Regions from separate parts of the Homo sapiens genome. Here regions 1, 2, 3, 4, 5 and 7 are each linked to region 6. Evidence: promoter capture Hi-C in 16 types of primary human blood cells and fetal thymus (Javierre and others, 2016). All regions are on one chromosome and are shown on one strand. Each heading gives the region's core, a stretch centred on a gene start or on the middle of the fragment in contact. The rest is flanking DNA. Distances are from core to core; before and after follow the strand shown.

What was found. Contacts are between HindIII fragments. The CHiCAGO score rates a contact against its expected background, and 5 or more counts as called.
Region 1: a contact is called between a fragment that was not itself captured here and the fragment with the promoter of RAB28 in region 6, in 9 of 17 cell types (non-activated CD4 T cells, monocytes, total CD4 T cells and 6 more). The highest score is 17.8, in non-activated CD4 T cells.
Region 2: a contact is called between a fragment that was not itself captured here and the fragment with the promoter of RAB28 in region 6, in 2 of 17 cell types (M0 macrophages and monocytes). The highest score is 10.4, in M0 macrophages.
Region 3: a contact is called between a fragment that was not itself captured here and the fragment with the promoter of RAB28 in region 6, in 5 of 17 cell types (total CD4 T cells, non-activated CD4 T cells, activated CD4 T cells and 2 more). The highest score is 10.0, in total CD4 T cells.
Region 4: a fragment that was not itself captured here is called in contact with the fragment with the promoter of RAB28 in region 6 in 5 of 17 cell types (total CD4 T cells, naive CD4 T cells, activated CD4 T cells and 2 more); the score reaches 12.6 in total CD4 T cells.
Region 5: a fragment that was not itself captured here is called in contact with the fragment with the promoter of RAB28 in region 6 in 1 of 17 cell types (total CD8 T cells); the score reaches 6.2 in total CD8 T cells.
Region 7: a fragment that was not itself captured here is called in contact with the fragment with the promoter of RAB28 in region 6 in 8 of 17 cell types (naive CD8 T cells, total B cells, monocytes and 5 more); the score reaches 12.4 in naive CD8 T cells.

What each region holds. Positions count from the first base shown.
Region 1 is chr4:16,229,767-16,233,066 of GRCh38, forward strand. The region is part of intron 1 of TAPT1-AS1 (TAPT1 antisense RNA 1); the gene reads left to right. Among named protein-coding and RNA genes, the nearest start is that of TAPT1-AS1, 4.8 kb to the left of the region's middle. The HindIII fragment of the contact is 8,035 bases long and covers 1-3,300 here.
Region 2 is chr4:16,270,194-16,273,607 of GRCh38, forward strand. No RefSeq gene overlaps it. Among named protein-coding and RNA genes, the nearest start is that of TAPT1-AS1, 45 kb to the left of the region's middle. The HindIII fragment of the contact is 2,273 bases long and covers 603-2,875 here.
Region 3 is chr4:16,210,348-16,213,888 of GRCh38, forward strand. It overlaps TAPT1 (transmembrane anterior posterior transformation 1), which reads right to left. Exons shown (of 14, transcript NM_153365.3): 2 at 3,421-3,541. Among named protein-coding and RNA genes, the nearest start is that of TAPT1, 14 kb to the right of the region's middle. The HindIII fragment of the contact is 2,069 bases long and covers 1,201-3,269 here.
Region 4 is chr4:15,765,604-15,768,874 of GRCh38, forward strand. It overlaps a transcript of BST1 not described here. Among named protein-coding and RNA genes, the nearest start is that of CD38, 11 kb to the right of the region's middle. The HindIII fragment of the contact is 2,087 bases long and covers 314-2,400 here.
Region 5 is chr4:16,251,115-16,254,303 of GRCh38, forward strand. All of the region lies in intron 2 of TAPT1-AS1 (TAPT1 antisense RNA 1), which reads left to right. Among named protein-coding and RNA genes, the nearest start is that of TAPT1-AS1, 26 kb to the left of the region's middle. The HindIII fragment of the contact is 3,832 bases long and covers 1-3,189 here.
Region 6 is chr4:13,482,391-13,485,841 of GRCh38, forward strand. It overlaps RAB28 (RAB28, member RAS oncogene family), which reads right to left and starts at 1,950. Exons shown (of 7, transcript NM_001017979.3): 1 at 1,686-1,950. The coding sequence starts at 1,760. LOC105374495 (a long non-coding RNA gene) reads left to right here and starts at 2,059. Exons shown (of 3, transcript XR_925413.1): 1 at 2,059-2,564. RefSeq lists silencers at 1,482-2,101, 2,095-2,389, 2,352-2,411 and enhancers at 1,835-2,129, 1,925-2,832, 2,092-2,211. The HindIII fragment of the contact is 2,971 bases long and covers 1,185-3,451 here.
Region 7 is chr4:15,781,887-15,785,487 of GRCh38, forward strand. The region is part of intron 1 of CD38 (CD38 molecule); the gene reads left to right. Among named protein-coding and RNA genes, the nearest start is that of CD38, 5.4 kb to the left of the region's middle. The HindIII fragment of the contact is 614 bases long and covers 1,093-1,706 here.

The DNA of each region.
Region 1 (3,300 bases), core at 590-3,089, 2.7 Mb after region 6:
TGGTGAGTAGCATACGCAGACTTCAAAAATAAATTGCGTAACTTCATATTTCAGTAATTAAAGATTTAACAATAGTGATTTTGTGGCTAAACAAAATATACTGAACCCATTATGTATAAACCATGGATTCAGAGCTCCAGAAAATTATCTTAATGAGGCATATAAACTCTTTTTGTTTAATGTCCACACCAAATCATTATGGTCTGCCATTTCATGAAATAACAAGTTTTAAAATAAGTGATGTTTTTTAGTTTGTATATCTATATTCTTTTCTACCAGGTATAGCACAGTGTAGTACAAGGGCCTACAGTTACAAGCCTTGGGAAAGATACTGTTTTGGCCACATATTTCAGCTATGTGACCCTGGAAAGAGGGTCTCAGAGGGCCACTGTGGCCCTCAGTGTCTTTTCATTGGTAAATTGGGGCAACATCTTTTGTATAATGAAAGCTGAAAAAAATAACGATTTTCCTTTTATTCTCCCTTCCTTTCATTTAGGCTGTAGTTTTCACTTTTTAACTACAAAGCAATTTATCTCTTGATAACACTTCTAGTGTATTGTCCCTAAAGTACTTTTGAAAGTAGTTCTGTACACTTTTCCTGAGTAATAAAAACATCACATATTTGCTAACTTGAAAGAATCCCGAGTCAGGAGATGGCCTGGATTCTCTCTGACCCTTCAACTAAAGTCTTTGACCAAAGGAGCACAGGTGACCCCTTTCTGCTTCATTTTCTGACCTGTAGAGTATTGGACTCAATGACCGATCCTCCCTTGTAGCTCCAAAATTCTGGGCTAAACTCCATGCACCTCCCTTCTGAGTTAAAAATAGTAGACAGGCCTGCATTATCAACATTTGTAGAAAAATATGAAATGCTTAGAGTCACTTTGTAATTGAGTCTAAGATTTGAATGCATAGAGTTCAAATGCAATACTTGTGTTGATAACACAACAAAGACATGTAAGTTTTTATGTACCTTTATGTTCTATGCATTAGTCCTTCATTCCTTGGCATGAGGAGAAGTGATGGTTTCTCAGTGACCTTCCAGAACTCTAAGGCTGTGTTTCTCACACCAGGCCTCAGGGTTTCTACATTTTGAACAAATTTCCAGTATTGTACCCATGCACACCTGAGTCTAAGAACTCTGCTGTAAGGTGACATTAAACAGCACCTGAAGTTATATTTGAGATGATTACTCAGTAATCAATGTACAGTTGATTTTCATAGTGTGGATTCAAGCACGGAATAGAGCACAGTTTTAATTAAATCTGTATTTCTCAGTTGAAACTTTATTTTAGCATTACATGACTTCTATTTCATGAATCATAAATGTCATGTTTCTTCACAAACTGTAGTTCTGAATTTAACTCATTCACCATTTTGTCGTCAAAAAGAAGAGTTGATGTTGTTGAAAGATCTAAACAGCTTTGCAGCTGATGTTCTAAAGAAATAAAATATACCACTGAACCCAGATCAAGCCTTTGCACTAAATTAATGTGAGTTTGAATTTCTGAGTTTCAGTAGTAATATTTTCTATCTTTGGCAATCATTTTTGGACTGACGCTCATTACGTTTTATTCTCTTTGGGCTTTATTCCATGGATTTGTAAAGGACACCAGTTCGCTTTATTTCTGGAAGATGTAACACAAATTAAGTAATGTGCCTTTGATTCCAATGTAACTGTTACACCTTAACTAAAACTGTCATGAGCAACATCATTTTTAAAAGCATTTCTTTGACGTGCAAATATATGACAGAAACCATTGTAAATAGGACTTTTTGAAAACAATACTTTGCTAAAAGGGGTGTTTTATGAAGGATATTATGTTCTGAAGACCTAAAGGTAGGTTCTGTTTATGTAATAAAAGTGTATGAACCTATATAATTTCATGGCTTATTGGCTTATAGGGCCTTTTATTCATGATCAGATATAAAATTTATTTTGTGCTGTACTTTAAATTTCTGGAAAATTTCAAAATACTGATGAAAGGGGCCCTGGTAATGACTCAGCAGACTTTCCATTCCAGATTTATCTCTAAGAAAAAAGAAGTGTTTCTCATTATCACGATGAAAATAAATAGAGGTTGTTTCAAACCGTATTAATCATTTAGTCGGTTAATTAACAAGAATCCTTTTGCAGAATAAATTCAGACCTTCTAGTAAATGTGTTGATAACTGTCAAAAATCCTTTTTTATAATTCTAGCTAGCAAAGGCTTTCATTTTGGAATTCAGGAAGCAGGGGAGATTTTATTTATCACCCAGTTCCTGTTGCTAGTCCTTTTGAATTTTGCCTTTCAGAGTTTTTTTTTTTTTTTCTTTTTGTTATTCCCCAGTGGCAAGTTATTTATTGCTTCGTTTGGCCACTCATCAAATAGTAGTTGGTAATCAGAAGATTTTACATGATATTCAGGATAATTTTTTGCTTTTTTCTAGTGTTTCTAGTTGAACTATGATGGATTAAGGTAACTGAGTAATTTTTCTCTTGACATCGATGCCCTTTAAGCTCTTTTGGGCTGTGATCCTGCTCTTGTAATTAGCTTTCATCCTGTTCATTAATCAGTGTTTCCATTCTGACAGTTTTTCCTTTTCTTTCTCCTCTTGTTTCTGAGATATTAAAAAGCGAAAGCAGTCTCTTACAAGGATCTATTGTTTGTTATCTTTTAGGCAAACCCAAGTATTTATCTCTCTCTTTTGCGTTCATACCAAAATTTATTGGAAATGCACGATAAATTTTCAGATTCTCAAAAATCTCAGGGTTTCTGCTTTCCAGGTTTTAGAAATTAGTTTATCTGATTTCAAGGCCTTAGATTTTCAAATTGCTCTTTTATATGCATCTATTCTATTCCGTTTTCTTTTCAGTTCTAAGCCTATGTTTATATGTAAAATGCTTCTCTTGTTTCTGACATTTTCCAATTTAGTATCAATTTCTAATAATGAACCACTGTTACCTGCTTGTCTTCCATGTGGATGCTTAATAAATACTATAACTTAGGTATACAGTTTCATGGAGGAGAATAGAAGAATGTGGTTAATTTTTTGAAATAGCAATAAAAAGAAAACATGTTGTGGCTTTAGCAAGCATTATTTTCTTGTGACAATTTTATCCTCCTAATTATACATTGCCTAAGCTGGTACTAACGTTAATTCATGTTCTCCTAAGCATATGCCCACTCTTGACAGATATACACTGGGGTTACAAATTTGGCGTGTATAATTTACACATAAATATTCAATTGCTAAGAAAACTGAGACTAAATCACATGCTGGTCATTATCATCTTTTAAATTACACTCTGACCTTTC
Region 2 (3,414 bases), core at 489-2,988, 2.8 Mb after region 6:
TTCACTTTTAAGCAATTTGCCCAAGGTTATACAACTATTCAGTGGAGGAAGTGAGGTTTAAACCCGCAAGGCCTGGCTCCGGAGCTTGGTTCTTAACCACTACCTCCACTGCATCTGATTATGTCATCTACTCACAGGATATTTTCCAATTTAAAATGACCGCAAGCAATCCTTAGAAACAGCCCCAATTTGCCAGATAATCATGACTGTCTTCCCTCCTATCAGGGGAAGCCATGTGGATCTGGCTTAAATTTCTTAGGAGAGGTGTATCAGTTAGGGTTCCTCTTTGGAAAGCCACAAAAATGAACTCTGGCCAAGATCTTATAAAAGGGGAATTTGTTAGAGGGATGTATGGATTAGGTAATAAGAGGGAAACTGGAGAATCAAGCTTAAAAATAGGATGGGAGGAGCCACGAACATAAACTATGTCTACTGTGGAAGTATAAGCAACAGGAACTTCACAAAATTCAGGGCACTGCTGCTGGAGCAAAAAAACCCCAATTCTTCTGAGCCTTGGGAGCCTTGGGAGCCTTGGAAGAATGAATATAAATGGCCAAGTTGGACCATGCACTTCCTAGGGACTGTACAGAATGGTGAGAGGAAGCTTCTTGGGGAAGGAGCCTCTGGGTATTTCAGAACAGAAGTAGAAAGTATTGGGACTTTAGTAGTGGGAGGGAAGAACTTCATGTTTTTCTACTGATATTGCACAGAATGGGGAAGAGGTAAGTATGAATGGGGAAGAGGAGGGAGTGAGCAGGAAACTGACTTGAAAACTATTACAATAGACCAAGTAGGTGGTCATGTAAGATTAAAACTTGGATAATAGAAGAAAGAATGAGAGGAAAAGTAGGATTTAAGAGGATGACTTAACAGCAGTTTTCTTTTTTCTTGTTCTCCCCTATTTTCGGAGTTCTCAACCATCATCTCCTGCCCCCAGGAGGCGACTCTGGGAATTAGAGGTTGTCTATTCCCATGTCTGAATTCTTGCCTAAAGGCCTTCAATTGCTGACCTCTTTTCTCAAATTTTCAATCTCATCTCAGTATCATTTTGCTTCCCAGTATTTTCGATACAAATCATTTTACTTATGATAGAAACCGAAGCAAGTATGGTTTGTCTTTGTAATGTAAACGTAATTTCGGAAGTAGACCATTCCTCTTGATCATAAGCAAAGTCAAACCTAATATTAGTTTGGATTTATATTACTGTTAATATTATTTACTCTCTGAAAACAGACTGCCCCCAATTAACATTGTGAATTGTCTGCCCTGTAATGACCAGATATTCCATTCTATTACATTATTGAAATCATTTGCATGGTAATTATGGTTTAGCTCTATCGGTAATTGGAATTGTTTGCCTTCTGGTAATGTTGTACAATGGTGGCTCATTAATCACATAGAAAACCTTGCCACGTGGCAGAATTAAGGAAGTATAATAATACACTCCCACTAAACTCGTGGTTCTAAACCAGCGTTTCAGTTTGTTCCATTACCTTTCCTGTGATGTAGGTTTTTGTTTGTTTGTTTGTTTAGTTTCTAAGCCACTCATGACAGAAAAACAATATAAACTGCAAATGTGAAAATGTGATTGTTCTAGGAAAATTTTATTTAAAAATTCCACAGCACGAATTACCCATCTCATCTTCCTCTTCTCTTCAATATTTCTCCTTCCTCCAATCTGATAAATGAAGCAAATATCATAGGCTGCCAAGGGAATTGAGATATTTTTGTGTGTGAGTGTGTGTGTGTGTGTGTGTGTGTGTATAATTTAAGTAAACCAAATGTATAGGAAAAATCTGAGTTTGCATTAAAAACAAAACAAAGCAAACAACTGGGGACTTAACCTTTACTTTACAAAAGGATTCTTTTAAAAACGGTCTTTAAATCCCAAAGTGCCCCTGGTGCGGTGAAATTACTATTTAATCTCTAAAATTTATATTTTTTTCAGGAAGTTTAATAGAATCAAATGATCCAAAAATCCATATACACACACACATGTGCATGCAATTAAAATATGGTCATCTTCTTGTCTGATGTGCTGGATCAGTGCCTGACATGTCAAATGCACTCAGAGATGATTTCTTCAATGGTGGTGATGGGGCATTCTGGCAGGTGATCGCCCCTCAGAGCCACATGTGTAAGTGAGGCAAGTGCCGTCTTTCCTTGGCGTCCTATACCTTCTTGGATGCACCCTCCCCTTTCCCATTTTTAGGGATTTTTAGGGATGCACCCTTCCCTATTTCCCAGCCAGAGCCCAGAGAGGGGAAACAAGGACAGGCTGTCTCTTTGGCTGCTGGTCTACTCGCACTTCCACTATATCCCCTTGGGACCAGAAGTGAGGATGGGTTTCTCATTCTTGTCTTTTCCTCTCTCCCAGGACTCCTTCTGGTATCCACAGTCTAGAGGAGGCAGGGACCGGGCATCTGACACCCCTACATAACATTCTCTTTTTTCTTAATTCAGCTCCATCATTAAGTTTTAATAATGGGAAGAGTGGATTACATGTGTTTCAGTTTTTTGATATATGAAATTTGGGCTGACTAAGTACTTAATCTGAAATGACATTGTTTTAAACTGGAAGAGTGTTGCAAATTTAGATTTTTTTCTACTATCCATTGGGTGTAGACAGGTATTAGGTGGAATAGTTATTTTTTTCTGCACATCTGAGTCCAGAGAACAAATTTGCATCTGTCACTACACAGGTCTAAGGGTTCATCTTGGGCATCTGCAGAAAGACTGGGTGAGTGTTTGAATGTGGGATCAGAGATGACTGTGAACTTGGGGCCCCTTCAATGAGCCCAGCCTTTGGGGGTACAGTTTTGGGCCATACTATAGCCTAGTTACTCAAACTAGGGATGCATAATGGAAAGAGAAAAGCTTTTGGAGTCAAATACCTTCAGTTTTCTTTTTTTCTTGTTAGATAGGGACAATTATTCCTATCATAATAATTAAATGAGATAATATATGTAGGGCACACGGTATGGCACCTGGGACATGGTAAGTTCTCAATACGCATCAGCTGCTATCTTTCATGTTATTAATGGGCCTCGGGGCTTTTTGCAACATTGTCCGCATCAGAGCCATAGTCGTGTCGTCCTTGAGTAACACAACTTTTGCAGGAAGCCAACAGAAGGCTTTAGAGAGTTGCCAATTTTGGAAAGATGCATTAGTCAGCTAGGTCTGCCATAACAATATACCCCAGACTGGGTGGCTTAGACAATAGAAGTTTACTTTCTCATCGTTCTGGAGGCTGGAAGTTCAAGATTAAGGTACCAGAAGGGTTGGTTTCTGGTAAGGCCTCTCTTCCTGGCTTGCCATCTTTTCACTGTGTCTTCGCATGGTCTTTCTTCTGTGTGTGCTCATGGAGAGAGAGAGAGCACTCTGGTGTTTCTTCCTCTTCTTATGAGGACACTG
Region 3 (3,541 bases), core at 985-3,484, 2.7 Mb after region 6:
TAAAAACCACACCTCTCCCAATCACCTCCTGCTGTGCACATCCCAAAGATGAAAGCTATCCCTACTGCAAAGAAAAATATTACATCCACCAGAATGTAATCGGGGACAAGCAACCTTTAAATTCCTCTCACTCTAGCAGAGTAGTGCATTCCCCCTGAGTTGCTGATGTGAAGGTTGTGAAAAATTTTACATGCTTACCATATAATTAATATATAGATGAGACAACTTAGGCAGAGAATGATTAAGTGAATTGCTCAAGGACTCACAGCCAATCAACTGTGAAGCCAAGACTCAGAGTTAGACAGTTCGGCTTTAGAGATGATCCCCTTAAACACTTTGCTATCTTGCCTCTCAATTTAGAAGGCAGAGAAAGTATAGTTTAATCTCCTTGGTTGTATAAAAAAGAAAAATAAAGTTCCCAAAGTGGACTACATAAACAGCAGAAGATCTGGTACATAGAACCCAAGGGGTTGTAGGGTCAGGGGAGGACATTTATGGTGGAAGAGAAGAAATGTCTCTCAAAAGCCAATAAAACACTCCAAAATTATATACCCTTAGCTTAAAATAAGAAGTTTAAGAGTGAAAATAATGTGCTAATAATTGGAAATACTATGTAAAATATATAAGCAATTCATTTTTACTAAATGTCAAGTATAAGGTATTTATCCAATGACAATACAACACAAAAATTGGGGTGTTTTTTTTTTCACATTAGTAAACAGGTTTGATAAGACATATTAAGTTGACCTTTATCTTAAAATATAAAAATTAATTACATGTTTTATGGTGTTTGCAACCTTTGTAGAAGCAAAGTGCGCTTTAATTTTCAAGTTTCTCTTCCTGAAAAGGTTAGGTGAAAATATCATAGCATTCATCGAAAAAAGAAAAAAAATGAGTAAGATATTATATATTAGAATAGACAATGTAAACAAAAAAAGCCAATAAAAAATTATTTAGGTTATCTTGCATGTCTAGATAGGCTCTCAACTCATAATAAAAACTTTAAGTGAAATCCTACTTATAAAAAATAAAGGCCTTAAAGATAGCAGAGTGAATTCATGCAGTTATGAGAGATATTTAAGCCTGGAATTAAACTGAAACCTAAATTGGCTTTCCTCTACATCCCACTTGGTTTTAGAAGTTAAGAAAAAATGCTCCAAACAGAAAATCATGATGTTCTTTTGTACATTTAGGCTACAAAGCTTCTTAAGTATTGTTCTAAGAGACTACATCAAATTTTCCCAAACAGGCCTAAAGCCTCTCTCAGGGAAAACAAAAATCATTAGAAAATTATTACAATTGTGTATGAGCAGTGTTGATGCAACTTTTCTGACATTATACATTTACATTCATACAAATGGAACCAAAGTTTCATGAAACAATACTTATTCTTAGTATAGGCAATGTTCTCTAATACTTCTTCTATTTTCTTAAAAAAAAAATTCTGATGGCAACTTATACTGATTACTTGACCCATTAGTGGTTCTATAGTGGACCACAATTTAGAATCACTGGTTTATACTTTAGTCTCATCAAGACATAAGTATAAGCTATTTTCTCCAGAAAACAATTTATACTCATAATTACAACCATGAAATGCTTATTAGTTTCTGTGAGAAATCTACCCCAAAACATTGCTTGCTATTTCAGTGTTGCCTTAAGAGAAAGAAAGAAGGAAGCGTGAAACCAGCCTGTCTCTGCTGAGGTAACAAAATCAGGAGTGGATGTTGCCACTGCTCATTAGTTTTGCCACAGGAGGGGTAATAAAAGGGGTGAGACAGATACCAACCCACTTTGAAGCAGTCCCCTGGTTGTGTTCATAAAGTTTGGTGGGAGTTGCAGGCAAATCCCTCTGTGTTCTCCCCAGAGAAAAATGGGAGTTCATAACTACTCAGAAAGACAGGAAACAAATTCCCCTGTAGAGGGCTGAGGCCAGGTGGGCAAAAGCTGATTGTGGCTGGCACTATCCTGTCCAAATACAGGCCCTGGCAGGCTGTCCTTCCCACTTCCCCTGCACTGTGTCCTCACACTTCCATCTCATGGCTTATTGCTGGAAGAAAGCTGCAAAGCAAGCTAACAGTCTTTTAAGACACAAGAACTGGTTTAATCTTTTATTTTTTTCCAAGTAAAAGAAACATCCGCCTACCCTACTCCTTTCCCCAAACAAAATCTTCGATAAATCTCAATGTATAAGACAGAGCTGTTGCTGCGCTGGAGAGGAGTGCTGTGGAGAGCCCTGCCCACTCCTCCTCCCTCCTTATCTGTAAGTCCCTCAGGCCCCCCCAGGGAACTCTAGTCCTCTAGAAATGCAGGAATACAGTAATAGTTGAGCATATTTAATGATCCTTGCCAAAGGCAATCAAACCACTGCCATATTTGTTCTCTAATCTTTGCTTGCTCACCAGCTCTCTAAATCCCACCCTAATACAGAACTCCCTAAAACTTCAGCAAGTGACGCTTCACCAAGAACCTACATAAAGCAACATTTCTGAAACTGTCACTCTACATTTCGCTCTTTTTCTTCTATTAAACTGATAGACTATCAGAAATAGAACATCAGCCAAACCAGCTGGGTCCTTACTCCTCATTGCCTGCAGTACCTCTTGTTACTACAATGTACCAATAAATCCAGCCAACCAAACTCTTCTGATAGCCACTCCAACAGAAAGTATGATTCTAAGAAGACGACTGGACTATTACAAGATTTACGTTACTACAGAAGTATGAAAACATGTTTCAATATAGCTGAAGCTGAATTATTTCTTCTTTTCTTTTAGCAAGAAATTTTGGAATTGCTTAGACTCACCAACTCTAGCATCGCCTAGGGGAGAAGGGGCTGCTTTCCCAGCCTATTTTATTGGTCTTGATAGGATAAGGCACAGCCAAGGAATAAGACACGTGAAGATGTAGTGCTGCTGTTACTACACTCACCCTGTAATGTGATGCTTCCTGTGATAAAGATTAAACAAACCATCTTTTTCTTTGAAGAGACTGTCCTGTATGTTTATAAACATGTGGGCTTTCTGAGAAACTGAAACCTTTAAAAAGGCTGAAATTAAATAATTTATCATGCTGAATGGGGGAAAAAAAACCTGTTTCTAGTAAAAGAGAACTGAAGGGAACTAAAAGGGTACAGAAGTAGAGATTAATTCCTTACAAAAGTTATTTTGATGTAGCACACAATGATAATGATAGGCAGAAAAGTTCAGATTTTGATAGATCTATTAATATCCTATCACTGGGTCTTACACTAAAAAATGTAACTTTAAAGCTTCTTCCTGTAAGGAAATTTCTACTCCCCCAATAACATTATTTCAATTATTTAAAAAACTCAACTCTAGCTGTTGACCATTTTTTTGCATAATTAATACTTTGACATAACTTTCAAAATGATGTCTGGTAATGAAGAAAAAATAGTACCTTTTCCAATTCTCTTGGTATTCGCAAACAAGTGTATACTCTTTCTCTTCTTTCTGTATACTTGGCCTCATTATGTTCAAGGAAGTACCCTCTTGTTAGTTCAGCACTGAGGAACCTCAAC
Region 4 (3,271 bases), core at 107-2,606, 2.3 Mb after region 6:
TGCCATGCACCTGTTACTTGACCTCTGCTGTTCTCTGAACACACCAGGCTTGCTTCTGCCTTAGGGCCTTTGCAATTGCTCTTCTCTGTCTGGAGCCCTGTTCCCCCAGATTTCACCTCACCTTCTTCAGATTCTTACCCAAGTGCCACCTTCTGAGTGAGACCTTCCTTGGTCCTTTACCCAAAATTGCAACCTTCCCCCAAGTCTTTATCCTGTTCCCTGCTGAGTTTGTTTCTTAGCCCTCATCATCACCTCGCATGTGCTATGGTTTACTTATCTTGTCTATTATATGTCGATTCCCCTTTAAAACATAAGCTTCTGGCAACCGAATTTGTTTAACAGCTATAAACCCAGTACTAAAATAGTTCATGGTGCTCAGTAAATATTTAATGCACAAATGGCTGAATAAGGGGATGGAAGTCAAAAGAATTGCATTACAGTGTGATACTCATCAACATACAGTTGTGCAGTGCCCTCTAAGCACCAGGGACTTGCTAGCCACTGAGGACGTACCTGAGACAAAGACTGTTTGGCATCCTTCTATAATCTAGTTGGGGATGGAGGTAGGGTGGCAAAACTGTCCCAAAAAATCAGGAAGTATAGGATGCATATGGTTATCCATGATACGAGCTTGTAATCCAGACATGAAGGCCTGTAAAAGATGTCTCAGATTTGGAGTGTCTAAACTGTCACCTGAAGGTTAAGGAAAAACAACTGGATGAGGGAGGTGGGGCAGTGGGAGAGCTGAAAAGTCACCAGATCTGTTAAGCTGCGGTCAGACCTAAGGGAGGATGTGGCTGAGAAGCTGACTTTTGATGAACTCCTGTCTTTACTCTGATGAAATAAACAAGGAAGCCTAGAATGAAGGGCAGGCAGCCCAAGTGAATTAAAAGCATTTTGAGGCATCTTGCCAAGTTCTATTTACTCTTATTTCATTAAAAATACAGAAAGAGTAGTAAATACAAGATTCAGCCTTGCTCGGTTTCAGGATGTGGGAGGAGAAATCATGCAGCTGTCTTACATGAATCTGCTAGAAAGAAGCAGGTCACAGGTGTGATCTGTGTGGCATCAACGAGCATGCTTTTCTGTTGTTTTTGACATTCAGCATTTATCTATTCTTCTTTTCGTGATGGTATCCTGACTTGAGGAGGCACAAAACATATTGAGGAGACAAAGACCTCCCTAAAAAAAAAAAAAAAAAAAAAAGACCTCCCTAAAAAAAAAACAGGTTAACCCTGAGCTTCCTGGTGACACTCAAAGCCTTCTGACCAGAAGAAGTGTGAAGAAAAGGGGAGAACAATCCCTGGACCAACCAATGCCCACACGTTGCTGCATCCCACGCCCAGTGCCCATGTCCCACTGCCGTTGCCAGCATGCCCAAGAGAACAGCTGAAGGGGATGCTATAGTAGATAAGGCCAAGGTGAAGCATGAACCACATAGTAGATCTGCAAGTTGTCTGCTAACCCTGCCCCTCCAAAGCCAGAGCCGAAGCCTAAAAAGACCCCTGCAAAGAAGGGAGAGAAAGTACCCAAAGGGAAAAGTTGACGCTGGCAAGGAGCGGATAACCCTGCAGAAAATGGATATGCCCGAACAGACGTGGCACACAGAAAGCCAAAGGTGCTGGGGGTGCCGAGGGAAATGTGTGCATTTTTGAAAATTGTGTACTTCTGGTGGCTGCACAGTTTGAAATACTACTTTTTATCAATTTTTTTTTTTTTGAGATGGAGTCTTGCTCTGTCACCAGGCTGGAGTGTAATGGTGTGATCTCAGCTCACTGCAAACTCCACCTCTCGGGTTCAAGACATTCTCCTGCCTCAGCCTCCTGAGTAGCTGGGACTACAGGCACGTGCCGCCACACCCAGCTAATTTTTTGTATTTTTAGTAGAGACAGGGTTTCACCATGTTGGCCAGGATGGTCTCGATCTCCTGACCTTGTGATCTGCCCGTTTCGGCTTTCCAAAGTGCTGGGGTTACAAGCGTGAGCCACCGTGCCCGGCCCTACTTTTTTTTTTTTAATCAAGTTTTATAAAAATCAGAATTTTGTTTTACTCTTTTTAAAGCTATGTTGTTAGCACACAGAACACTTTATTGTTTTTTTGGGGAAGGGGCATACGTCACTAATAGAATGTCTCTGAAGCTGGATTGATGTGGGGAAAACACTTTTCCCTTCTAGTTTTTAATTTTTTTTTTATTTTTAGTAGAGATGGAATTTCACCATGTTGGCCAGGCTGGTCTCGAACTCCTGACCTCAAGTGATCTGCCCATCTCGGCCTCCTCAAGTGTTGAGATTACAGGCATAAGCCACCATGCTCAGCCCCCTTGTAGTTTTGAAAGACTTCCTCTTGGCTCCCAGGAGGAGGGATTCCCTGACTTTGACCACATGGTCACCTTGGCACAAAAGCTTTGTGGTATGGAAAAACAAAATCATTCATTTTTAAATCCTCTTCTTCCTTTCTACCTTTCAGCACAGACTTAACTCCCTTAAATCCAGACACCTGTTGGGACCTGACCCCCAATAATTGGTTACCAGTGTGTTAGGCAATCTGGACTTTCCAGTGATGCCACTGAGATGCTGCCCCTCCAAAGAGCAGCGGTTCCGATTCTAGACTGTGGATCTTCAGATAACCCTGACTTTCAGGAAGTGAAATAAAAATGGCAGAATTTAAAGTTGTTAAACAATGCGCTAAATGTGAAATGTCAACCCTCACTCTAAACTTTCCCTGTTTAGAGCATCAGTCGAAAGCTTCATGGGTTTTAGAGTGGCTTTCTGATTTTTGGTAGTCCATGGAAGAAGAGAGTTTGAAAGTTGTTGTATACTGTTAATGATTGTCTGCCCATGTCCTGCTGAAATACCATGAGTGTTGATGGACAGTATCTTTTTTTTTTTTTTTTTTTTTTTTGAGACGGAGTCTCACTCTGTCACCCAGGCCGGACTGCGGACTGCAGTGGCGCAATCTCGGCTCACTGCAAGCTCCGCTTCCCGGGTTCACGCCATTCTCCTGCCTCAGCCTCCCGAGTAGCTGGGACTACAGGCGCCCGCCACCGCGCCCGGCTAATTTTTTTTTGTATTTTTAGTAGAGATGGGGTTTCACCTCGTTAGCCAGGATGGTCTCGATCTCCTGACCTCATGATCCACCCGCCTCAGCCTCCCAAAGTGCTGGGATTACAGGCGTGAGCCACCGCGCCCGGCCGATGGACAGTATCTTTAATAAAACTGAATACAGTTTGGCTTGGGGAAAAAAAAGCCCTCCTGACAGCTGCCACAGACCC
Region 5 (3,189 bases), core at 100-2,599, 2.8 Mb after region 6:
TCCTTAACCTCTCTGTGTTTGATATTGTCAACCACTGTCCCTTTCATGAGTCCCTGTTTCCATGGCGATGGTGACATTGTACTCTTCCAGCTCTTAAATCCTCCTGACTGTTCTTTCCCTGAGCTCCATAATGACTCCCCTTCCACTTCTCTAGTCTTCTTTTTTTTTTTTTTTTGTTTTGAGACGGAGTCTCACACTCTCACCCAGGCTGGAGTGCAGTGGCGCATTCTTGGCTCACTGCAAGCTCCGCCTCCTGGGTTCACGCCATTCTCCTGCCTCAGCTTCCCAAGTAGCTGGGACTACAGGCACCCGCCACCACACCTGGCTAATTTTTTGTATTTTTAGTAGAGACGGGGTTTCACCGTGTTAGCCAGGATGGTCTCGATCTCCTGACCTTGTGATCCGCCCGCCTCAGCCTCCCAAAGTGCTGGGATTACAGGCGTGAGGCACCGCGCCCGGCCTTCTCCAGTCTTCTAATTGTGGGGTCTGCCTACAGAACTGTTCTTTTCTTACTTCTCTTTTTTCTGCATTTTCTATTTCTTGGATATTTAATTCACTCCTATGGCTTCAATGATGATTTCTATGACAGAGGTTTTGAAATATGACAGATACAGACATAACTAGAAATATAAATCTGACCCTGACCTCCCCTGGAGTTCTAATCTCCCATTTTCTGTTACCTGCTAGGCAAGTCCCATTTGTATTTTATTTTATTTTTATAGAAAGAAATGAGATAATCATATGTATTGTAAAAATGTGAATCCATACACATATGTACTGTATATATATATGAATGCATATACATATGTAATACATATACATGTATATTGTGCATATACACACAAACACATCTTAATGAGACCAATGTCAGGTCTCTACCCCCGAACAATTATGTTGGAATATGTAGGATGGGGCTGCAGCACTTGTGCCTATTAAAAGCTCCCAGAGTGATTGGAAAAGAACAATTATTTCCATAGGTTTTGGGGAACAGGTGGTGCTTGGTTACATGAGTAAGATCTTTAGTTGTGATTTGTAAGATTTTGGTGCATCTACCACCTGAGCAGCATGCATTTGTATTTTAAACTTAGCATTTCTAAAACAAAACTTGTCTTCTTCACCTTCAGACTCCCCAGTATGGGCTAAAGAGACCTTTCTGGCCTATCCCCTGCTCACCTTTCCTGTTTCATCTCTTACCACTCTTCTACAAGCACTCTTTTTTCCAGTCATGTCAAATAACTGCAGTTTCACGAACATGTCACGTTTCAAATGCCTCTATGCTATTGAAAACTACGTTCTGTCCCCCGAAACATCCTTCTCCTTGGGCCTGAATTTTTTGTCCCAAAACATTCCTTCCTCAACCCTCCAAATTTTTCTTGTGTATCATTTTCCTTAGGAAGGCTTCCTGCATCTGATGCCCTTCTGCTGTCTCTTATAGCACCCCTTGGAAACTTCTGTTATAGATCGTATCATACTAAAGTGTAGCTGGTTGCTTACTTGTTTGTATTCCCAGGTGAACTGTGAGCCCTTGGAAGTGAAGAAGTATGTCTTTGATGTCTGTACACCCAGGCCCTAAAAAAGTGCTTAACACATAGTAAGTGGATTCACACACTTTTTCTGTGCTTAATACATACTGAATGTGAATACATACGGTATGTGAATCTGCTTCTCTCTCCTGGTTTCTCTATTTTTGATGGTGGTAAAGCCATCTCAAATTTATATCTCTAACCCTGACATTCCTCCTAACTCCATGATCACATCCTTCCTTCAAAACATCTCCACTTGAATGTCCAAGAGGTTTATTAAATCTAACAGGGGCTAAGCAAAGCCCCTGCTGTCTTTGCCCACCATACTGCATCTTGGTAAGGGCACCACCATTTACCCAGCTGTTCTAAGTACAAACTCTGGAATCATCCTTTTTCTTCTACTCTACATCAAATCTGATAAAAAAAAAATCCTACAAGCGTTGCCTGATCATAGATCTGGAATCTGGCCATTTTTCATCTCCTCCAGCAGTGCTACATCAGTTCAAGCCACCATTGTCCCTTCCCTGGGCTCCCATGGTGCCTTCTTACTGGTATCTGTTTACTCTTGCTCTCTATAAATGATTCCTCCAAACAAAAGCCAGAGGTACTTACCTTGGCTTACAAGACCATTGAGGATTAGGCCTTTGGCTATCTTTCTGGGCTCATGACCTATCACCTCCTCCTTGTTGACTCTGCTGCCTACACAGGCCCCCTTGTTACTTTCTGAACACACCAGATGGACACTCATTTCAGGGCTTTTTTCATGCTACTCTCTCTGCCCCAGATACTTCTCTCCTAGAACTTCACATGGCTCACTGCCTGGCTTTCTTCTGGTCTCTGCCCAATAGTCACTTCTGGAAAGAGGCCTTCTCTGACCATAATATCTAAAAAAGCACCCCCACAGACTCTATCCTCTTACCCTGATTTGTTTTTTCCTTTGCCATATGATGTTTTATATTTCTTTATATATCTATTGATACTCTCTTTCATTAGTACATTGGCTCCCTGAGAATAGGGTCTTCGTCTACCATGTTCTTTGCTGCAATCCTAGCATCTGGCACTTTTCCTGGCATATAGCAAAAGCTCAACAAATACTTGATGAATGAATAATTCCAGTTATTCAAGACTGTGAGTCATATTTGACTCCTCACTTGCATTCCCTCCTGTGTGCAGTCACCGAGCCCTTTAGAGTCTTATGTTTATTCATTTCACATTTATTGACTGTAAACTGTCTTATGGTCTGTTTTTCTTTGAGCTAACTTACTTTCCACAAGTGCCATATCAAATGAAGTAATTAATGCAACAAGAACTTTGTAAACTCTAAAGCACTATACAAATGTCATTTTCCTTCCAGTCCCACTGCGATGACATGAATTAATGTTACTTCCTCTTCCAATCTATACAGGAGCCTCTAACTGAACTATCTCCTTCCCAAATTCTCCTTAGATTATATATTTTGCACCCTGCTGCCCACTTAGTCTTCTTAAAGCCTTGCTATAATTATGCACCTCTCCTACTCAAAAACTTTGACTGCCTTCCAGTTCTTGACCAAATAGTATACAAAGTCCTTGACTTGTAACCAAGACCTTCCCTGATGTGGCTTCAGATTGCCCTTTCACTGTTTCTCACTCTTCTCCCACCCAAACCCTGGATTTTCAAGTAAGTT
Region 6 (3,451 bases), core at 700-3,199:
ATAGGATAACCAGCAATTTTTGTGTCTTTTTACAAATGTATTGTTATGAGTTGTCATTATCATTTTAAATGGGAAATAAGATCAGTTATGAATTGAATACAGTAAAATTTAAGAGCCAAAACCTTAGACGGCCTTCAAAAGAAAATCTAAATGATGAGAAAACTATAAAAATCTAACAAACTTTTTATTGAATAAAGGTGTTAGAAACAATGATTTATTTATAGCAATTCATTCATTCGAAAAGTTTACTAAGTATACAAAAATTAATATACTTTATAAAGAAAAGTTACCCCAAGTTCCTTTCTTCCCCCAACGTTTAAAGGTAATCAGAGCATATTGTTTTCCTCAGCTTTAAAAATCTGTAACAAAGGATCCAAGAAGACAAGAAAGAAACAAAAAAATACTTCAAATTTTGCATATAAAATTTTACATCTTTCCCAGGTGACCTCGAAACTCAAATGTCAGAACCAAAGGCAGAAGCAGGTATCTGGGCAGTGCCAACTGTCAGGGAGGATGCAAAGAGAAGTCGTCACCAGAGAAACCAGGGTCCGAAATGCAACCAGCAACAGGGAAATGTGAAGCCTTAAACAGGAAATAAAAGCCTGGGTTTCTTTAGACTATGGTTGGGATAAGGAAGGGGAGTACAGGGGTGATAAACTTTAGCAATATTCCCAGAAAGTGTTGGCGCCTTTGACAGAAGCATGGGAAAGAAGGCATCCGGGTAGAGGCTCTTCACTATTTGCTGGTGGAGGGATCATAGACCCCTCTGAGATCTTATGGACCCTCTCCCCAGAGCACGTACCGGGCAGTATTTACTCCATTTCAGGAGTTCCACAGCCTTGGGGTAGGAGCCCCTGCCTAGGAGATAATAAGACTGACGCTGCCTGATATTCTCACGCCCGCATTCATTCATTCGAACAGGGGATCCCTTTTGTCACGCAAGCAGCTCTACCCTCAGCATCCTACCCGTAACAGGAGCTCCATAAACACTTGTTGACTGACTGCTTGTATCGAGTGCTGAGCTGGAAACAGAGGTGATGAACAGGTATGATATTAAAATAGCAACTAGAGTGTACTGAGTGGACACTGTGCTCTAAAGGTTTTATGTGTATTTTCACATTTAATATGTATTTTCACATTTCTCCCTTTGCGGCGGCCCTTTTCAATACCCATCTTACAGATGAAGCTTAAACTGATTAGCAATTTGCCCTCCAATGACCCGACGACTAAGTGGCAGAGCCCCAATTCTCACCCGGGGAATACTGATTCCAGAGCTACGCTCCTGGGAGCTCACGATGCAGTAGAAGCATCAGAAACGGTAAAGGGGGTGGGAGGGGAGGAGTAAGTGTGACCCAGACTACAAGTAAGAGGAGCTAAGATGCCTTGGCAAATCCCTGCCAGTCCTGAGAGGCGGGAAGCTGAAAGGCTGGCCCGAGTCTTGCAGGAGTTCGCAATCCAGGCGGGGAGTTAGGAAGTGACTCTTTTTTAAGGGGGAGCTGGACAGCTCTCGTCGGCCTTCACCAAGCGCCCACTTCGTGTCCGGCCTCAGGCCACACAACCAGAAGGGCCCGGGCCTAGAAGCCCGAGGGCTCGGGGTAACGAGGCGACGCCGGGCGGCGGGGAGGAGGCCGGGGACCGCCGGGGTTCCTGCAGGCCTGGGACGGCGGGCCTGCTCGAGGACTGACCTTCCCGGAGGCGCCGTCCCCCAGCACGACGATTTTCAGTTGCCGGTCCTGGCTCTCCTCCTCAGAGTCCGACATGGTGTCCCGGGAACCAGGCCCGCCCCTCGAGGTGGGGGGGGAAGGGAAGGATGAAGGCTCCGGGGGCGGGGGAGAGGAGGAAGGGAGGTAGTTGCGGCAGGACCCCCGCCCCGGTGTCTCCGCGCCGGCAGGAGGTATTCGAGGAGAATCACTCGGCAAGCGCCATCTTGCCCACCTCCCCGCCCTCTGCGCGCGGCCCCGCCCCCTACGCGCACGTCGGGCGCGCGCCCCCGCCTCAGAGCCAACCCGCGCCGACCGGCGGCCCCGCCTGACGAGCCGAACCACTCGCGGCCCTGGACTGGTGTGGGGGACATTCCGGCGGGAGAGGCGAGGCGCTGCGTTTCCCTTCAGGAGACAGTTGGCTAGAAGAAGAAAAGAAGTGTTCGTTCAAATTAAGGAGAGAAAACGGGAGCAGAGCAGCTTTCAGGCGTTCCATCAAATTCCCTTTTCTCCTTCCCTCTTGAGAAAGTCTCTGAAGGGAATGGTTCAGCCTGACGGGGTGGAGCAGTGACGCCCGGGCTACGCGCCAGGGTTGCCTGGCAGCCAGGAGTTCGAGGACCGGCGGCGGGGCGGGGCCTGTCTCCGGGCACCCGGGACGCCCGTAGCCTGGCGGAGAGCGCCAGAGAGGGCCCCTGAAAAACCGGACCAGGGAAGAGGGTACCTCGGGGCGGATGAGGGGACAGCTGCTAAGGGCCGAGGCTGCTGGGAAGCCTCAGTAGCGGCCGTGAATACAGTGGAGCTCCGGCGCTGCTTATTTCGGCCTAACTCTTGGTTTCCTCATCTGAACAACCCCAGGCTCCCATGGTTCGTTCATCAGACGCTACTGATCGCCAACCTCCTGGCACCCCATCTTTACCCTAAGGCAGCAGTTCTCATAAAGTGTGGTCTAGGGACCTCTGGAAATCCCGATGACCTCAGAACAATTTTCATAATAATACGGACACCTTGTCTGTCTTTCTCACGTTCCTTCTCTCACTAGTATACCGTTTCCTGGAGGATACGCTTTGTGTACGACGTCATCACTGGCAGCTAAGGGAGCTTGCGTTTGTTGTTTTTAAACATTTCTCAGTTTTCATTTCAATGCAGTAGTGATAGGTGTAACCCACATAAACATAAGCTCTTTGGAGGTCACAGTAATTCTTTAACATTATAGAGAGGCCCTGAGTCCAAAAAATTTAAGAACTGCTGCCCTGGATAATCTCAGTCCAGGAGCGTTAGGTAAACGGCATAAATGAAATTTACAATTTAGTGAGGTAAATTCAAAAATAATAATGCTGTCCTGCTATGGTTGTTTCATTGTTAATCACTTAAAATTTATTGTTACCTTTACTACTATTAGGAATTATGAAGTATAATTATCCCCATTTTGCAGATGAAGTATCTTAAGTTAACAAAATGCTTAGCCCAGAGGCAGTAGTCTTGGAGACCATATGGGCATTAGAACAGGAAAGCAGAACAGTGTAAAGAAATGCCCAGACCTAGAGGCATCACTGGAGTTTAATCTCATGTTTACTAGATATGTGTCCTCGAGCCTCAGTTAGTTCACCTGTAGAACAGACTACTGCCTTTGTGTAGGTTTGAAAATTAAATGAAATAATCGGCATAAAGTAGATAGCACAATGCCTGGTGTGTAGTAAGCACTCAATATTAACCAGTGTAACTATCACCCTCATCATCATCATAATTAGATG
Region 7 (3,601 bases), core at 150-2,649, 2.3 Mb after region 6:
TAAAACAACAATCATTTATTGTCTGCCATGGTTCTGTGGTTTGACTGGGATCAGCTGAGTGGCCTGTTTCACTTGGTGTCAGCTGGGGGTGTAGGCATCTGCAACATTGTCTTGGCAGGAACATCCAAGATGTCCCACTTAACACGATGGCTCCTGGGCTCAGCTGGGCTGGTCAGGCCTCCCTTCCTCTCTGTGTTGCCACACGGCCTCTCTCTATCCATGTGGCCTCTCCATATGGTCTCTCCCTGGTGGAGGTGAATTTCTTCAAGGTTTCTAAACTCTCAAAAGTGGAGCCTGGCAAGCCCACTCAAAGCTTCAGATCCACAACTGGCACAGCTTCCCTTCCACAGATTCTATAGGTTAAAACAATCACCGGACCAGCCCAGATTCAAAAGAAGGAGAAACAAACTCCACCCCTCCATGGAGGAAGTAGCAAAAATAATGTAGACAGTTTTTACCCTTTACATCTGGATTTGTTAGCTTTTCTGTTTTCATTTTCTTCTGGTCTTTCTTTTGTCCTTCTCTTACACTTATTTTATTACCTTTTATCAATTAGCTTTTAAGATGATAAAAATCTAATACATGCCTCCTGGAATGTCTTCTTGAGCCTAGGGACTTTTGTTTAATGATATATCTTGAGGACCTAGAATAGTGCCTGAAATACAATAGTCATTAAATATTTAGCTGAATTAAATGAATGGTATATAAGCCAGGGTATTAAAAATAACATAAACAAAGTTGTAATAAATATACTTCCCCAGTGAACGACCTAATACCATTACTCCCCAAACCCTCAATTTCTGTCTTGAGCATAGAAACTGTTAATTTTTCCTTTGTGTAGTAGGTCCTTAGTATTTCTTTAGAGGTTGTAGCACTTTATCTTCCTCACTGTTCCTTTTCCTTGGTTGTCCTTTTCCAAACATCTCTCAACAATTTCTCCCAAGTCCATCTTGCCTGCACTAACAGTCTCCTTTAGAACTCCCCTCTCCTGCCTGTCACACAGTCTTAGTAATAGTGCCACAGTATAGTAGTAAGGGTCTCCAGAGAAACTCACTTTCTGCAAGTTTTTTAGTGTGGGTAGGTGAGTATTGAAGCTTGTTCTTGGCGTTACCAGGTTGGTTCTTTGAGTTGAACCAGGGGCATTACATGCGGAATATTCCTGAACAGATCACCTCTGGTTCTGCTGTCTCAAGGGCCACACACAAGAGCTGCCTTCTGACCAAGATGTCTCTGGGCACATGAGACCTGAAATACACATGGCCAAGACTCAACAAAGCGTTTGCTGACTGTCAGAGCTGACAGCATCTCGGTACTGTGGGAGGGAGCCCAGTGTCTGGTGATAGTCAGGACGGACCCAGGTGATGTCAGGGGTGGGGTGGGGCCTGCAGGAGGGAATGGAGAGCCAGCACCTAGGGGAAGCTGGGAATTTAGGAAGATATCCAGAGAGTGTAACTTCAGTTCCACTAATCTCACCTGGGTGAAAACCAGCCCTCTCCATGGATGATGGTGATTGCAGGTACTGACGATAGCTGCAGACTGCTGGTGGTCTAGGCAAGCATGCAGGGATGGGAGCAGGCATTTCTGAGAGCTCCCCTTATCCCTGCCCCAAGACAAGGTGGGGGCCCTGTGGGGAAGGACTATTTTATTCACTTCTGCATCTCCAGTTGTCTAACACATTGCTTATCACCTAACAGTCTCTTAATAGAAGCTTGCTATATTGAGCTGCCTTGAGTCCACATCATGCTGGTTGAACATAAGTAGAAATTGTGGGAGACTTAATCAGAGAAAATCTTTCATCTGTCTTACCTTACGTTCTAATGATCACTTCTGTGCCCACAAGGACCATCTTTTCTGATTCATGTTCATGTCGATTTCTTTTTTATTTAACTTCCTCTTCAAAATTTCTGGCAGGATTTCTTGGGAGCCAATTCTCCATTTTTACTTCCCCATGCCTCCCATTTTAATGACTGTAGGATTTTCTCAGGGTCTACTCAGCAAAACTTGTTAGTACAACATGAGCAAAACAGCAAATTTATGCAAACACTTAGCAAAGACTTAGCTGTCTGCCTAATGCTAGGGTGAGACATGGGAGATTCACAAATGAAGAAACACAAGCATTGATCTCCAGGATCCTGCAGTGGGAGGTATGCGGAGGACCAACCTGGGAACAGAGCAACGCAACACCATGTGATCTGTAATGAAAAAGAGGCCTGTACACAGCCAAGAGGTCACTGAGGAAGGAGCCATTGCTTCTGTGCAGTTAGTGCTGCGCTAGATTCTGCAGGGATGTAAGAAATGTACCCCTATCAAACAAGAAAGACTATGTGAATTGCTGAATATGTGAGTGGAGTACCAGCACAATGCCATGGAGATGCAGACGTGCCCCATGTGGTGGGGCAGAGTCAGGAAGCACTTTAAGAAAGAAATAGCATTTCAGGTCTTCCTTTAAAGGTAGAATTTCAACAAGAGGGTGCTCTGGAGAGTGTGTGTTACCCTGCTGAGAAAATCCTGGCGGTCAGGTAAGATGCTACTGCCAGGGAAGATTGGCCAATTGATTGACTAAACCCTTAAAGGTTTGGGGATCTTGGGGAGGATTCTGCTGGTGAGAGGGTCTGGACTTCCTCTTGGTCTGTCCACAGCTGGACCTTCTCAGCACACAAGAGACTATGAGGGTGACCATTTTGCACAGGACAGAATTCCAGCATGTTTTTCCCCTGGAGTGATGGAATGACCACCTGCTCAACATCAGTGTCCTCACTGAGACCATGAGATTCAGTAGAGTGCTGGAAAGCTTCATGCTTACCTGTGTCTTCTTAATGCTTAGTGTTATGATTGAAGGCTTCCTTCAGTCCTACCTTTTGTTCTGGGGTTCTAAGAATCTTAGGTGCAGGCGAGGCACGGTGGCTCACACCTGTAATCCCAGCATTTTGGGAGGCTGACGTGGGTGGATGACGAGGTCAGGGGATTGAGACCATCCTGGCAAACATGGTGAAACCCCGTCTCTACTAAAAATACAAAAATTAGCCGGGTGTGGTTGCGTGCACCTGTAGTCCCAGCTACTCAGGAGGCTGAGGCAGGAGAATCGCTTGAACCTGGGAGGCGGAGGTTGCAATGAGCTGAGCTCACGCCACTACACTCCAGCCTGGGTGACAGAGCAAGACTCTGTCTTAAAAAAAAAAAATCTCAGGTGCACCTGAGACAGATTGAATGTGGAAGGGGAAGTGAAACAGGCCTTCCAGGTGTGGGGCCTGGGTGCTGCTATAGTTACAAATGGGGAAGTGAGACTATAGGTCTCAGTTACCTGTGGAAGGAAGGGTAGAGTGGAGTACTTACGCAAATTAGCTAATTCTGGGAGCTTGGGGTGCTACCAGGGTATCAGGGAGAATACAGCCAGGGAATAGAATCTTCTTGAAGCAAAGGCTGTTTGGAAGCCCCCAGAGTGGATGAAAAGGCTCAGTGGGAAACAACAGATATCAGGAGAGGGAGAAGAAGATACCTATTTCTATACCTTTTGGCCTTGTGTTTTGCTTCAGACACTGTTCCCAGCAAGGTCAGTGGAACCCACTGCTCAAAACACACACTTGCTCCTTGTTCTGGTGTC